Linked DNA regions of Homo sapiens: regions 2, 3 and 4 are each linked to region 1. The links are contacts of gene promoters, found by promoter capture Hi-C in blood cells and fetal thymus (Javierre and others, 2016). All regions are on one chromosome and are shown on one strand. Each heading gives the region's core, a stretch centred on a gene start or on the middle of the fragment in contact. The rest is flanking DNA. Distances are from core to core; before and after follow the strand shown.

The links. Contacts are between HindIII fragments. The CHiCAGO score rates a contact against its expected background, and 5 or more counts as called.
Region 2: a contact is called between a fragment that was not itself captured here and the fragment with the promoter of MEF2C-AS2 in region 1, in 1 of 17 cell types (megakaryocytes). The highest score is 5.3, in megakaryocytes.
Region 3: a contact is called between a fragment that was not itself captured here and the fragment with the promoter of MEF2C-AS2 in region 1, in 1 of 17 cell types (activated CD4 T cells). The highest score is 5.5, in activated CD4 T cells.
Region 4: a contact is called between a fragment that was not itself captured here and the fragment with the promoter of MEF2C-AS2 in region 1, in 11 of 17 cell types (endothelial precursors, megakaryocytes, erythroblasts and 8 more). The highest score is 14.6, in endothelial precursors.

What each region holds. Positions count from the first base shown.
Region 1 is chr5:88,674,869-88,677,866 of GRCh38, reverse strand. MEF2C-AS2 (MEF2C antisense RNA 2) reads right to left here and starts at 1,649. Exons shown (of 4, transcript NR_146284.1): 1 at 1,604-1,649. The region is part of intron 1 of MIR9-2HG (MIR9-2 host gene); the gene reads left to right. RefSeq lists enhancers at 1,575-2,140, 2,578-2,677. The HindIII fragment of the contact is 5,913 bases long and covers 1-1,761 here.
Region 2 is chr5:88,162,453-88,165,369 of GRCh38, reverse strand. No RefSeq gene overlaps it. Among named protein-coding and RNA genes, the nearest start is that of TMEM161B, 100 kb to the left of the region's middle. The HindIII fragment of the contact is 4,402 bases long and covers 1-2,917 here.
Region 3 is chr5:87,908,105-87,911,174 of GRCh38, reverse strand. No RefSeq gene overlaps it. Among named protein-coding and RNA genes, the nearest start is that of LINC02144, 180 kb to the right of the region's middle. The HindIII fragment of the contact is 2,521 bases long and covers 129-2,649 here.
Region 4 is chr5:88,136,951-88,140,078 of GRCh38, reverse strand. No RefSeq gene overlaps it. Among named protein-coding and RNA genes, the nearest start is that of TMEM161B, 130 kb to the left of the region's middle. The HindIII fragment of the contact is 2,226 bases long and covers 710-2,935 here.

The DNA of each region.
Region 1 (2,998 bases), core at 400-2,899:
GTATTTTAGGAAACGTAATCTTGCTATATATGGCAAGGTAAAGGCGAACCTGAAGGATGAATGTGTTTCTGCTTTTTAATGTCATACGTGTAGCCATCTGACCACTTTTTATTGGGTGACATATCATATGAGCACTTTGGTGTAGGCTTGGAAAAACTACAGCCAGAGGTAAGGCTGGAAATTCCATAAGAGTTAAGGGTGCTGAAAATGGATGCTGGATAGTCCAGCATGAAAGATGGCATACCGCTTTAGGTTTGAAATAGGGGGAAATACATGTGAATATTTATACATGAAGGCCATTGGGGAGGGCTGAGTCTTGGCCTGAGTATCTGTGCAGGTAAGTCATTCATAAGAAAACTAATTACCTGTGCATGTACTTGGACTTGTTTAATTGAATAAGCTGCATGTGTGCATACTTGCTGTTCTTTCAGGGTTTGCAATTATAGATTGAGTCTTTTTTAAATGATAGCTTGGGGGAATTAAAAGGTGGAAAAAAGCCATCGTGCTGCATAGCTATATTGCCAAGAAAGAGAATCCGATCCTATAAACAAGATTACCATTGCTTGAAATCTAACTCAAGGCCTGTATATTTTAAGCCACATCAACTGGTTTAATATAGCCAATTGTTTTATTTGTGTATTTGCTTTCATTTCAAAGTCAGGAATCAAGGATGCTTTTCAGTCAAGATAATGTGCCTTGTTTCCAGCCATATTAAGATAAAAATGAAACTCAGTAAATTTTGAATGCAGCCAATAAGGTACAACATACAACATGGTTGAAAATGTCTTCCTTGCAGAAGGCTGTCCATTGCTGTGTCTACCCATTTTAAAATATATATATTTTTTTCAATAAGAAATGCTAGAAAGCAATAGGGCGGGGAATGCCGCACCTCTCAGGCAATCAGCACAAAAATTATTTAGAAATCTTTGGAATCACTTCACTTATACATACATTATCTCGAAAGCACTGGCCCCGAACTGTGTTTCTGCTAATATGAAGTTAATTAGACAATCAAACTTTGAGCCTTGAGCGATGGGCACTACAGCCCATCAAGGTATGTCAAGAAAGAAAAAAAAATGTGTATTTTCCTTTATGACCAAACCAGGAGGTTATACAGCTGGCATTGCATACATGACAGATGTGCATATTTGTAACCTTAAATAAACAGAAGCAGGGAGGTAACTGTGTATATTATCTAGCAAGAGACAGCAGCAGACACTCGCCAAAAAAGACAGAAAGGGACAAGAGAGACACATAGACATAATAAAATAACAACAATAAAAATCCTCCAAAAAAAAAAAGAGGGAAAGGGAACCAATAAAATGACAAAATCTGAAATTCTCGCAAATTAAAAAATGCAAATATACCTTTACATATGCATCAGTATTAAAAATAATACACGCTGGAACCAACAGGAGCGAGAGCAAGAAGAGGAGGAGGAGGTGGAGGAGAAGGAGGAGGAGGAGGAGAGGTGGAAGAGGAGGAGGAGGAGGAGGAGGAGGAGGAGGAGGAGGAGGAGGAGGAGGAGGAGGAGGAGGAGGAGGAAAGAATGGAGGCGCCGCGGAGCCCTGATTATGCATGGGCTGGAGCTGCCTCCTCTAACCTGTTCTTCTCCGAGCCGGGCAGCCGGCGGTCCTCAGCCGCCCACAGAACAGGAGCCGAAACAACCGTTCTCGAAGGCTACAGCGTTTATTTTTCTCTTTTGGGGGGTTTTGGCGGTTGTTTCAGGGGCTCGCCAACTGGCCCCTTTAATTAAAAGCTTCAATAAAAGGCGATCGCGCCAGGAATGCACCCGCTCCTCTTCGCGCAGGATTTGCATATTTTTTTAATGCCCTAATTTCCTTGATGTATGTAAATGTAGCCGGACGTAGAGGGAGACAGGGAGCTGACGTCAATGGACGTGACCTCGCAGCTAAACCTTGAACGTGAAGCCGGGATGGGGGAAAACACGGAGCGGCAGCCGGCGGAGCCCGAGAGCGCGGGCGGCGGCGGCAGTAGCCGAGCCCAGGCCGGGGTGCCAAGGGACCAGTGCCGGCCCCGGGGGAGGACAAGCCGCCGCCTTCTTTCTGCACCGCGCGGCTCTCAGACTCGCCAGCCTTCCGGCCGCACACGCAGACTCTTGCCCTGAGCTTCCAGCCCCACCACACACACGTTCTTTTGCTTCCCTCAGAAAAGCAACACTCCCCAAAACAACAAACCAAAATCAACAGATAAAACAGATGTTTTAGACCAATGCTCGGGTAGCTTATCAGAAAGAAGACTCTGACCACGGAACATATATATTTTTTGGCTTCTCTCCACAAGAAGAGGAGCGAGAGACCACAGACAACAGCAAATCACTCCTAAAACACGATAACTACAAGTGCTCCCTGTAGGGAGAGGTAAATCGCCCAGCCGACTGGTGAAGTCTTCTGGTTTCGGTACCTATTTACCTGTGCACTCATTATGCGCCTCGGCTTCATTAACGGCAGGATCATGAGCGCGCGTTTTAATGTGATGGGAGTGCTGTGTTGTGTGTGTGTGTGTATGTATGTATGTGTGTTGGGAGGTGCTTGCGCTAGTGAGCACCGAGGCAGGCGCTCTGAGCAGAGAGAGATCAGTCTTTCCATGGCCACGTCTGGGACTCATCTGCGGAGCCATCTAGGCCAGGGCTCCTAGATTGGGGTTCGACTTCACCCCATGTAAAAAGAGAGGCCAGCAAAGGCTTCCCCTGAACAGCCAGGTCCTTCCCATCGGATTGTTTGAGGAAGGAGGCTTGAAGTGTGAGCCATTCTGTAGCCGCCGCCTTGCCGGATTTGGCCTGGTGTTTTGCACTTGAAACTCAGCGGCCTCAGCGCGGAGGTAGTGCCTCTCCGAGACGCGGCCGAGGCCTTGTCATTCCCCTCCTTCCGCCCGCGGCAGCCCTGCGCGCCGGCGTGTGCGTGCCCGCGCACCGGACCGCTGGCACCTCCCTGTGCACATCCGCCCCCTCCTCTGCTCGCCCCCTCCTCTGGGGCAG
Region 2 (2,917 bases), core at 4-2,503, 510 kb after region 1:
GACCTATTTTTCTTAAAGAGGATCCCCAAATTGTTTATGCTTCAGGCTCTGCAAAACATGAATATGCCCATGCTTAATTCATCTAATGGGAATTAGATAAATTCAACACACTCTCCCTCTTGCTCATTATAATGATCCATCAGTCAAACCAACAACAATACTCTTGTCCATCTGCCTGCTGATTGCTAATGCATAGAAGTACAAGAGGGTGAAATTTTTATTTCATATTTAGACATATAAATATTACAAAAAGGTAAATTATTGGCTGAGGTACTGTTTTCACCTGCCTGATTTTCAGTTACATGTAGCTAGTTATTCCAAAACTCCATGTGACTATCATATAGTTTTTCCTTTGTTTAATATTGAGAGAGGATGAAAGGCACAGAAATGGTCTAGAGATGAGGATACATTGTCACCAAGGAGGTACACAAGACAGAAGGAGAAGGTTGAGAACTTTGAAAGCCAAGTCCAGTGACAATCCTATTAATAATCAGCCTGATTGTTATAAATAGAAGATGGACAAAGGGACCATTCTTCACTGGAAACTTTAAAAAGCAGCTTCCAGTGACTCTAGAAGCTACACTGGTTTTCTAAAAAGCTGCCTTTCCAATTTACTCATTCGACAAAGGGCTAATATCCAGAATCTACAAAGAACTTAAACAAATTTACAAGAAAAAATCAAACAACCTCATCAAAAAGTGGACAAAGGATATGAACAGACACTTCTCAAAAGAAGACATTTACGCAGCCAACAGATACATGAAAAAATGCTCATCATCACTGGCCATCAGAGAAATGCAAATCAAAACCATAATGAGATACCATCTCACACCAGTTAGAATGGCGATCATTAAAAAGTCAGGAAACAACAGGTGCTGGAGAGGATGTGGAGAAATAGGAACGCTTTTACACTGTTGGTGGGACTGTAAACTAGTTCAGCCATCGCGGAAGACAGTGTGGTGGTTCCTCAGGGATCTAGAACTAGAAATACCATTTGACTCAGCCATCCCATTACTGGGTATATACCCAAAGGATTATAAATCATGCTGCTATAAAGATACATGTACACATATGTTTACTGCGGCACTATTCACAATAGCAAAGACTTGGAACCAACCCAAATGTCCATCAATGATAGCCTGGGTTAAGAAAATGTGGCACATATACACCATGGAATACTAAGCGGTCATAAAAAATAATGAGTTCATGTCCTTTGTAGGGACATGGATGAAGCTGGAAACCATCATTCTCAGCAAACTATCGCAAGGACAGAAAACCAAACACCACATGTTCTCACTCATAGGTGGGAATTGAACAATGAAAACACTTAGACACAGGGTGGGGAACATCACACACCAGGGCCTGTTGTGGGGTGGGGGGAGTGGGGAGGGATAGCATTAGGAGATATACCTAATGTAAATAACGAGTTAATGGGTGCAGCACATCAACATGGCACATGTATACATATGTTAACAAACCTGCATGTTCTGCACATGTACCCTAGAACTTAAAGTATATATAAAAAAAAGCTGGCTTTTCAGAGACCACATAGCAAGAGAATAATTAATAAAATAATAACTCTATGAGCATCCTGAGGAGCCTGTAGCTTTCTTGGACTTGATTTTTATCAGATGAGTGGAAATATGGTTAAAACAGTTAACCCACAGAAGAAGCTAATTGGAAGGATGAGGCTGAAGGGAAGCCTCCCAGTTTAGGTGGATGACTTTTGAAGGCTTTTGTATATGTTAAAAATACTACAAGAGGCAAGATAAATTGATTCAAATCCTATGTATGCTACTTGATATGGCCCAGTTACCTCTACTGTACTATGAGGACTTTCCATACAGTATTTTCCATACAGGGTTGTCAGAAAATGAAATTGAGATAATCAATGGCTGGCACACAGAATTACAAGGGTTCATTCTCAGAATACATTGAGAAGGGAGGGTGCTTACCAAACTCCCGAAATTTTATGCAAATATTTCTATAGGTAAACATTTTGAGGAGCAACAGGTTCACAACTTTTATTAATTTCTTGAAGTGATCTGTGATAAAATAGGCTAAGAAGAATGGAAGTAGGAGCTCATTTATGTTTGTGAATGAATTGCAAAAAAAAAGGTCTGAAATTTTCTAGAAGTAGAATAGTCATCAAAATGTAAAATGTCTGAGACAGAAGAGAAATTGAGTGAGGTTATAGTGGGAAAAGTATTCAAGTTGATGTTGATCAGATAAACTAACACTATATTTGCACTGATTCAGTGTTATTCTTGCTTTCTAAATCTATTTTTTTCTATGCCTAAGGAAGTAGAAAATATTTTCTTCTTTTTCATGTTCTGAGCTATGAACATGGCTCAGTTTTCAGTGCAAGTAATTTAAAAAATTTGATAAGGGTTTAAAAGTTAAGGATGTGGTCCTGGATCTACATCTAAATAATTATGTGGACTTGTGCAAGTAATTTGCCTCAGTTTTCCCAAGTGTGAAGTTGTAGTGATGAACCGTTTCTTCTTCTTAGAATAATGTTTAAAAAATGGGCTAATAAATAAAAATATATTGAATGTCTTTGAGTGAAGTAGCTATTTAAAATCAACATGTTAACTAATCATTGGAGAAATGCAAATAAAAACCACAATGAGATACCATCTCACTCCAGTTAGAATGGATCTTATTGAAATGTCAAAAAAATAACAGATGTTGGTGAGGTTGCAAAGAAAAGAGAATGCTTATACACTACTGGTGGGAATGTAAATTAGTTCAACTATGTGGAAAGCAATTTGGTGATTTCTCAAAGACCTTAAAACAGAACTACCATTCAATCCAGCAACCCCATTATTGGGTATATACCCAAAGGAATATAAATTGTTCTCCCATAAAGACACATGCATATATATGTTTATCACAGCTCTGTTTATGATATCAA
Region 3 (3,070 bases), core at 140-2,639, 770 kb after region 1:
TTGGCAATATTTCTATTGTTCCTTAAATGTTTTTCCTTTTTGTCAGTATGTTCCTTTTCCCGTTACCTTCCAGGCACACTTATGCCAAGGTTTTACTTTCTAATTATGTCCCTCTTCCATTTAAAGCTTACTTGCATATATCCCTTTGCTTCATAGCCAGTTAAAATAATACAATAGTTTTATTAACAGATAATGGCTTAATGTATTATTGATAACTTTCTTTTTTATGGGAAGTTTTGGAGATAAGCATTCCTAAAATTAATTCAGATAAATTTAAAGGAGATGGAGGAATTAGAGATAACAAGAAATATATTTTTGCACAGACAGATTTTTTTCCCAAGCATTTCTCAAATTACATCTACTTACTTTTGTATAACTATTCTGCTAATATTAAACACATTGAATTCATATAACAGAAATGGCTCACTTGTTATTTGAAAATGAAATTCATTAATTATTAGAGTGGTTTACATTTCTAAAGTAATTTCATGTGCATTTCCTCATGTGATTATCTCAATAACCATATTAGGAAGAGCACATAGTGTCACCTTTTTACAAATGAAGGAATTGAGCCTCAGACAGGTTTATAGATTTGCTTAAGGTGACCAACCAGTGTATAGTAAAAATAGAAAATAAAGCAATGTCTCTGGACTCCTGGCCTCATAATTGTTCCATCATTGTTAGTCAAGATATATAAGAGATGAAAATTTAATTAAATATCCTTCCCTTTATTCAGTACACATATATTAATCACCAGTAATACGCATTGACTCATAAGGGATACAGAGAGGCAGAGACATGACCTTGGTAGGAGATCCCAGTCTAGTGGGGAAAGTTAAGACATTTAAAGAGATTTCTGTAATACAAGATAGAAAGCAAAATGTCCCAGTAAAATTGAGGAAGAGATATACTAAGTGAATCCAGAGAAGGACTTTCTAGCTGTAAAGAGAAAATTGTAGTCTTCATACTGGAGTGTGCACATGGACATGGGTTTGTAGGATGTCAAGGATATGGACACATAGAGATGAAAGAGAAAGATAGTACACAAAAGCAGAGAGAATATTGAGCACAAAGTTAGAGAGGAAAAGGGTCGATGATATAGACCTTTTCTGCATTTTCTTTCCTTCATATTGATACTCCCTTCTGTTAACAGTACAGAAGGGAATACTGATGTGGAGTACTCGTCTGTTAAAAATACCCAAATATTTCTTTGGGCAGCCAGCTCTTTCCAACTCTAAACGTATGTGTTTGTTGAGAGGTTGATCTGACCATTCTGCTTTAAAGAGGACCACAATTCCTGGCCTGATCAGTCAGAATTACAGTGGTCCAAGGATATGCATATTATGCAGGACTTTTGAGAAAAAGCACATTTTTTTTCTTTCTGCTGAGATTGCTCAGACAGTAGAATGTAAGTGGTGGTCTTCTTTGCCCCCTTATGGAAAAAGCCTTCTGTTTGTATACAGTTCTCAATGGGTTTCTCACATTTCTGTCCATCTTGTGTATAAAGTATGAACTGCCTTTGGTTCCAGACTATACTTAAAAATATGCTTGCTCAGTAAATAGCCTTGGGAAGAGAGAAAGAGATCCAGAACAAAGGAAAGGAATGCCTACTGCGCATCAGAAAAGATTCAGGCTCTCTAAGCTCAGATTTCCTCTACTGCAACACAACCTACTACCTGGGCAGGCATGCACCTAGGCTTTTCTGTATCCCCTCATGATATTTACGGATTAGAGGGATTCACAGAAATATACCTTTGCCTCTGGTCCAGCAGTCTCATGTTTTCTGTCAGCATTTATATAACTGAGGCAGGTTAACTTGCTAACTTACAAGCAAGGTAAATCTCAGATCATTCTCATTTTTCTGACACTTTCTAGATAAATAAACCAACATAGAGGCTTCTAGAAAGATGTGCAAAGAAAGAAGTTTGTGGCAATAATTTTTTTGACATCTGTATCAAATTGTGCCTTAATTCAGATATCTCTATCTTACTCAGTTAAATGAGCCACCACATTTTCCTTAAGTTTTCTTAAATTATGTTTCCATCACTTGCAACCAAAAAAAATCCCAATTTATCCCAATATTTGAGAACAATCTAAAAATTTAACTTAATTCGATGCAGAAATGGGACTACTGAAAGATTAGATTAGATATGGATTTCTAGCATAGCTGTGAATTTAACTGGAAGCGAATGAAAACAATAGGATTTTTCCATTAGACTACAATATTTCACACACATTTAATTGTTGAGTATTAATATGGAATTTCATTCCGGTGCATTGTATGCATGTACTCAACTAGCAAAAAAAAATGTAGGTCTTTAATTGTCATTAGTTTTTAGAAGATGAAGGACAGATATTATTTACGATAAGCAAATTAAAACCAAGTGACTTTCCTGAAACTTCACTGTGGCTTGAAAGTAAACCATAGTTTATGTGATTGTCTTTAGGGTCTCCACGTATTCTTTTCTGACACACTTCATTTCAAAATATCTCATCAAGATAATAAATAAAAAAGAAAAATACACACTGATTACATAAAATATAATTTTTGCTACATACATTGTAAATAAAATAGTAGCCTATAAAATTAAGGGTTTCATTTTTTCAAGTAAGGTACAAAATGTGATATTATGAAAGGAACATTAAGCTTGGAATAATTTTACCTGTGTTTTTGCTACAGTGCTGTATAAAACAAAACCACTGAGTCTTAAAATTTCTTGTGTAAATTTGGATAATTAATCCTATCTTCACAGAGTAACTGAGGGTTAAGTAAGCTACGTTGTATGTGAATGTGTTTAGCATGTACTTGGAATAAATGTAGGTGATATTTTATATTTACTGTCTTTATCCTTTGTGTAAGGTACAAATATAGAAGTGTCATTTGAAGTGCTCAAAGATAATAAAAGATGATTTTAGAAGAATAAATGTTCATCTCTTTCAGAATTAATTCTGAAATTCTTCAGATAAGTTCATCTAAAAGATTAATACGTGACATGAAAAGTAATAGTAGTGGGGGCTTGCTTTCCCAAATGTTAAAACATAGCATAGAATAATAATGATTTTTAAAATG
Region 4 (3,128 bases), core at 573-3,072, 540 kb after region 1:
AAAAGCAATGTTGGATGAAAAAAAGCAAATTGCAAAAGAATACATGTGATATTGGCCGGGCGCGGTGACTCACGCCTGTAATCCCAGCACTTTGGGAGGCCGAGGAGGGTGGATTACGAGGTCAGGAATTCGAGACCAGCCTGGCCAAGATGGTGAAACCCGTCTCTACTAAAAGTACAAAAGTTAGCCAGGGGCGGTGGCAGGCGCCTATAATCCCAGTTACTCGGGAGGCTGAGGCAGGAGAATTGCTTGAACCCTGGAGGCGGAGGTTGCAGTTAGCCGAGATCGCTGCATTCTAGCCGGGGCAACAGAGCAAGACTCCGTCTCAAAAAAAATGTGATATTGATGCAATATTAATATCTATTAACGTAAAATTATCCTTCCCATAACAATTTGTTGGTACGTAACTATGTAATAAAAGTATAAAAGCATGTTGGGGAAGAATGCGTGCGAACTCCAGCATGGGGGAGACCCCTGGAAGAGAAGGAGCCTTTATCCACATGGATATTGGCTATATGAGTAATGTTTATTTCCTTAAAAAAATCTTAGAAAGAAGCCAGAACATAGAGAGGTATGGGAAGGCTTTACAGAAGAGCTAACTTTGAAGCTAAGTTCTTGAAAGTGATAAGCAGGAGTTTAGTAGGAATATTTGAAAGACAATTCTTCTTCTTGAATACATGAGAATGAGAAATATAAACTATGTGAAGCTTTTGAACTTTTGATATTTAGGTTAAATACAGTACAATTCACTTTTTCAGGGATATAAATTCTTTGAGTTTTACCAGTGTGTAATGTAATCACGACCACAAGCAAGAAACAGAATTTCATCATCCCCCAAAACTTCTTTGTGCTGCCCTTTGCAGTCAATCCCTCCCAATATCCTGTAACCCTGGAAACCACTGATCTGTTTTCCATTCCTGTAGTTTTGCCTTTTACAGAATGTCATATAAATAGAATCATACAGTATGTAGCTTTCTTCTGTGTGGCTTCTTTTTACTAGCATAATGGATTTGATCTTCATCTGTGTTGTTGGGTGTATCAACAGTTTGCTCTTTTTGATTGCTGAGTAGTATTTCATTGCATGAACGTACCACAGATGGTTTATCCTTTTAAAAGTTGTTGAAGGCCATTTGAGTTGTTTCTGATGTACAGTTTTTTTTTAATTTTTTTATTTTATTTTTTTGAGATGGAGTCTCGCTCTGTCGCCCAGGCTGGAGTGCACTGGTGCGATCTTGGCTCACTGCAAATTCTGCCTCCTGGGTTCACGCCATTCTCCTGCCTCAGCCTCCTGAGTAGCTGGGACTACAGGTGCCTGCCACTAAGCCCGGCTAATTTTTTGTATTTTTAGTAGAGACGGGGTTTCACCATGTTAGCCAGGATGGTCTCGATCTCCTGACCTTGTGATCTGCCCGCCTCAGCCTCCCAAAGTGCTGGGATTACAGGTGTGAGCCACCACACCCAGCCCTGATGTACAGTTTCTTAATTCCAGGGACTGGGTTCATTGCTGTCATGTATAATGGGGATCTTCTGTGAATGGCTATTATATTACATATAATAAGTGTGTACCATTATTTCCCCTGAGAGGCTAATCTATAATCTGGTGTTAAATACTGTGTAGAGCTAGGTAAGAACCTACCCAGCCAACTATATAGAAAAACACACATGTTCACAGTATTTCAGAAATTGCCCTTCAGCTTACTTACTTGTAGTGAGTTCAATAGAAGATACTCACTAAAGATGCCAGCTGATGACCAGCATGTGTGAACTTACATATATGTAGTGGAGGATTTAAATTTCTTACTGTTTGAGCACCTATGACTTTCCTAGTGTGGAATTATTCTTTGTTTCTAAATATTTCCTAAATTCTCCTTGAAAGATTGACCTTTGCTTTCTGAGGTCTGAGTGGAGGTTTACTTGCAGGCAGTATCCCCATACATTTGATAGAGGATGACAAATTCACATAACCAATTAAGGAGTTCTGAGCACTTGTAAGGAGTCACAGTAATTCCAGATTCTGGACTGTACTGTCAACACTCAAGTGTTTGATTTCCTCTTGTTTGTTTCTCATCAGGACCCTGAAAAGCTGATAGCTAGGGTACATAGATTGGGTGCTGAGTTCAGGCACAGAGTAAGGAAGCCTGTGGGTACATAAGCACTTATTAATGTATCCCTTGAATTCCAAAGTCAAATATCAACTGTTTGTTGATATTTGGAGCCTTATTTATTTATTTATTTAAAAAACCTCTAGTTCCTCATGGCTATTTGAAAGCTCTCTTTCAAAGGCAGCTGTAAGAGTCAATAACGTGCAAGATGGTAAGGAGAAGTGTAAATAAACATTCACAGATTGATGACCTTTTGGGTGTGGTTCAGAGTCAAGAAAGGACAATCCCAACTGTAAAGACTGATGGCAGTATTGGGATGCAAGGGGTGCTATTGTCTAATCCTAGTCTTCTTGCTAGAATAGGCTGTGTTTTGAACTTAAAATTGTATCCAGTTGCTACATGTGAGAGTGCATGTCATCCCTAGTTTTAGTTCTTATAATCAGCATCACCCTCTGGCAAATGATACTGGAAAAAAGTTTTAATTAACAATTCAACTAAACAAATGGTAAAATAAACAATAGGAATTTCCTTTGGATACATTCTTAAGTAAACGTTATAAAGGTTATAAATCAAGGAATGTAAATGCCACATTTTCACTTTGTTAAGTTCTGTGCCACCTTGGAAAAAAGCCTACTTTATTTGTACCACAATTTTATCTCTTATAAAAGGGCAGAGGACTAAACATGTTGCTATTTATGATTTAAGATTCCCCCGGCAAGAAGCACTTTATGAACCCTAGACTTTGCTGTGATAGAACTCTTTCATTAGTCATGCCAAATTGCAATGATTGAGGCATCCACCATTTTCCCAATTAATTATAACACACCCAAGCTTCATGTTTCCTGGTGCACTTTGAAGATTTTGAGAAAGTGGTCATTTCCTCACAATAACCTAATTTACAGCCCCTATTCAAACAAGGTAATTTAGAGCATGCACTCTTAACTTGTTTAGTAAACATGTCCAAGCTAAGAAGTGTTGGCCCTGTGAAGCTCATCAGTCCAGTGACTTAACAGTAGTTCTTCCATT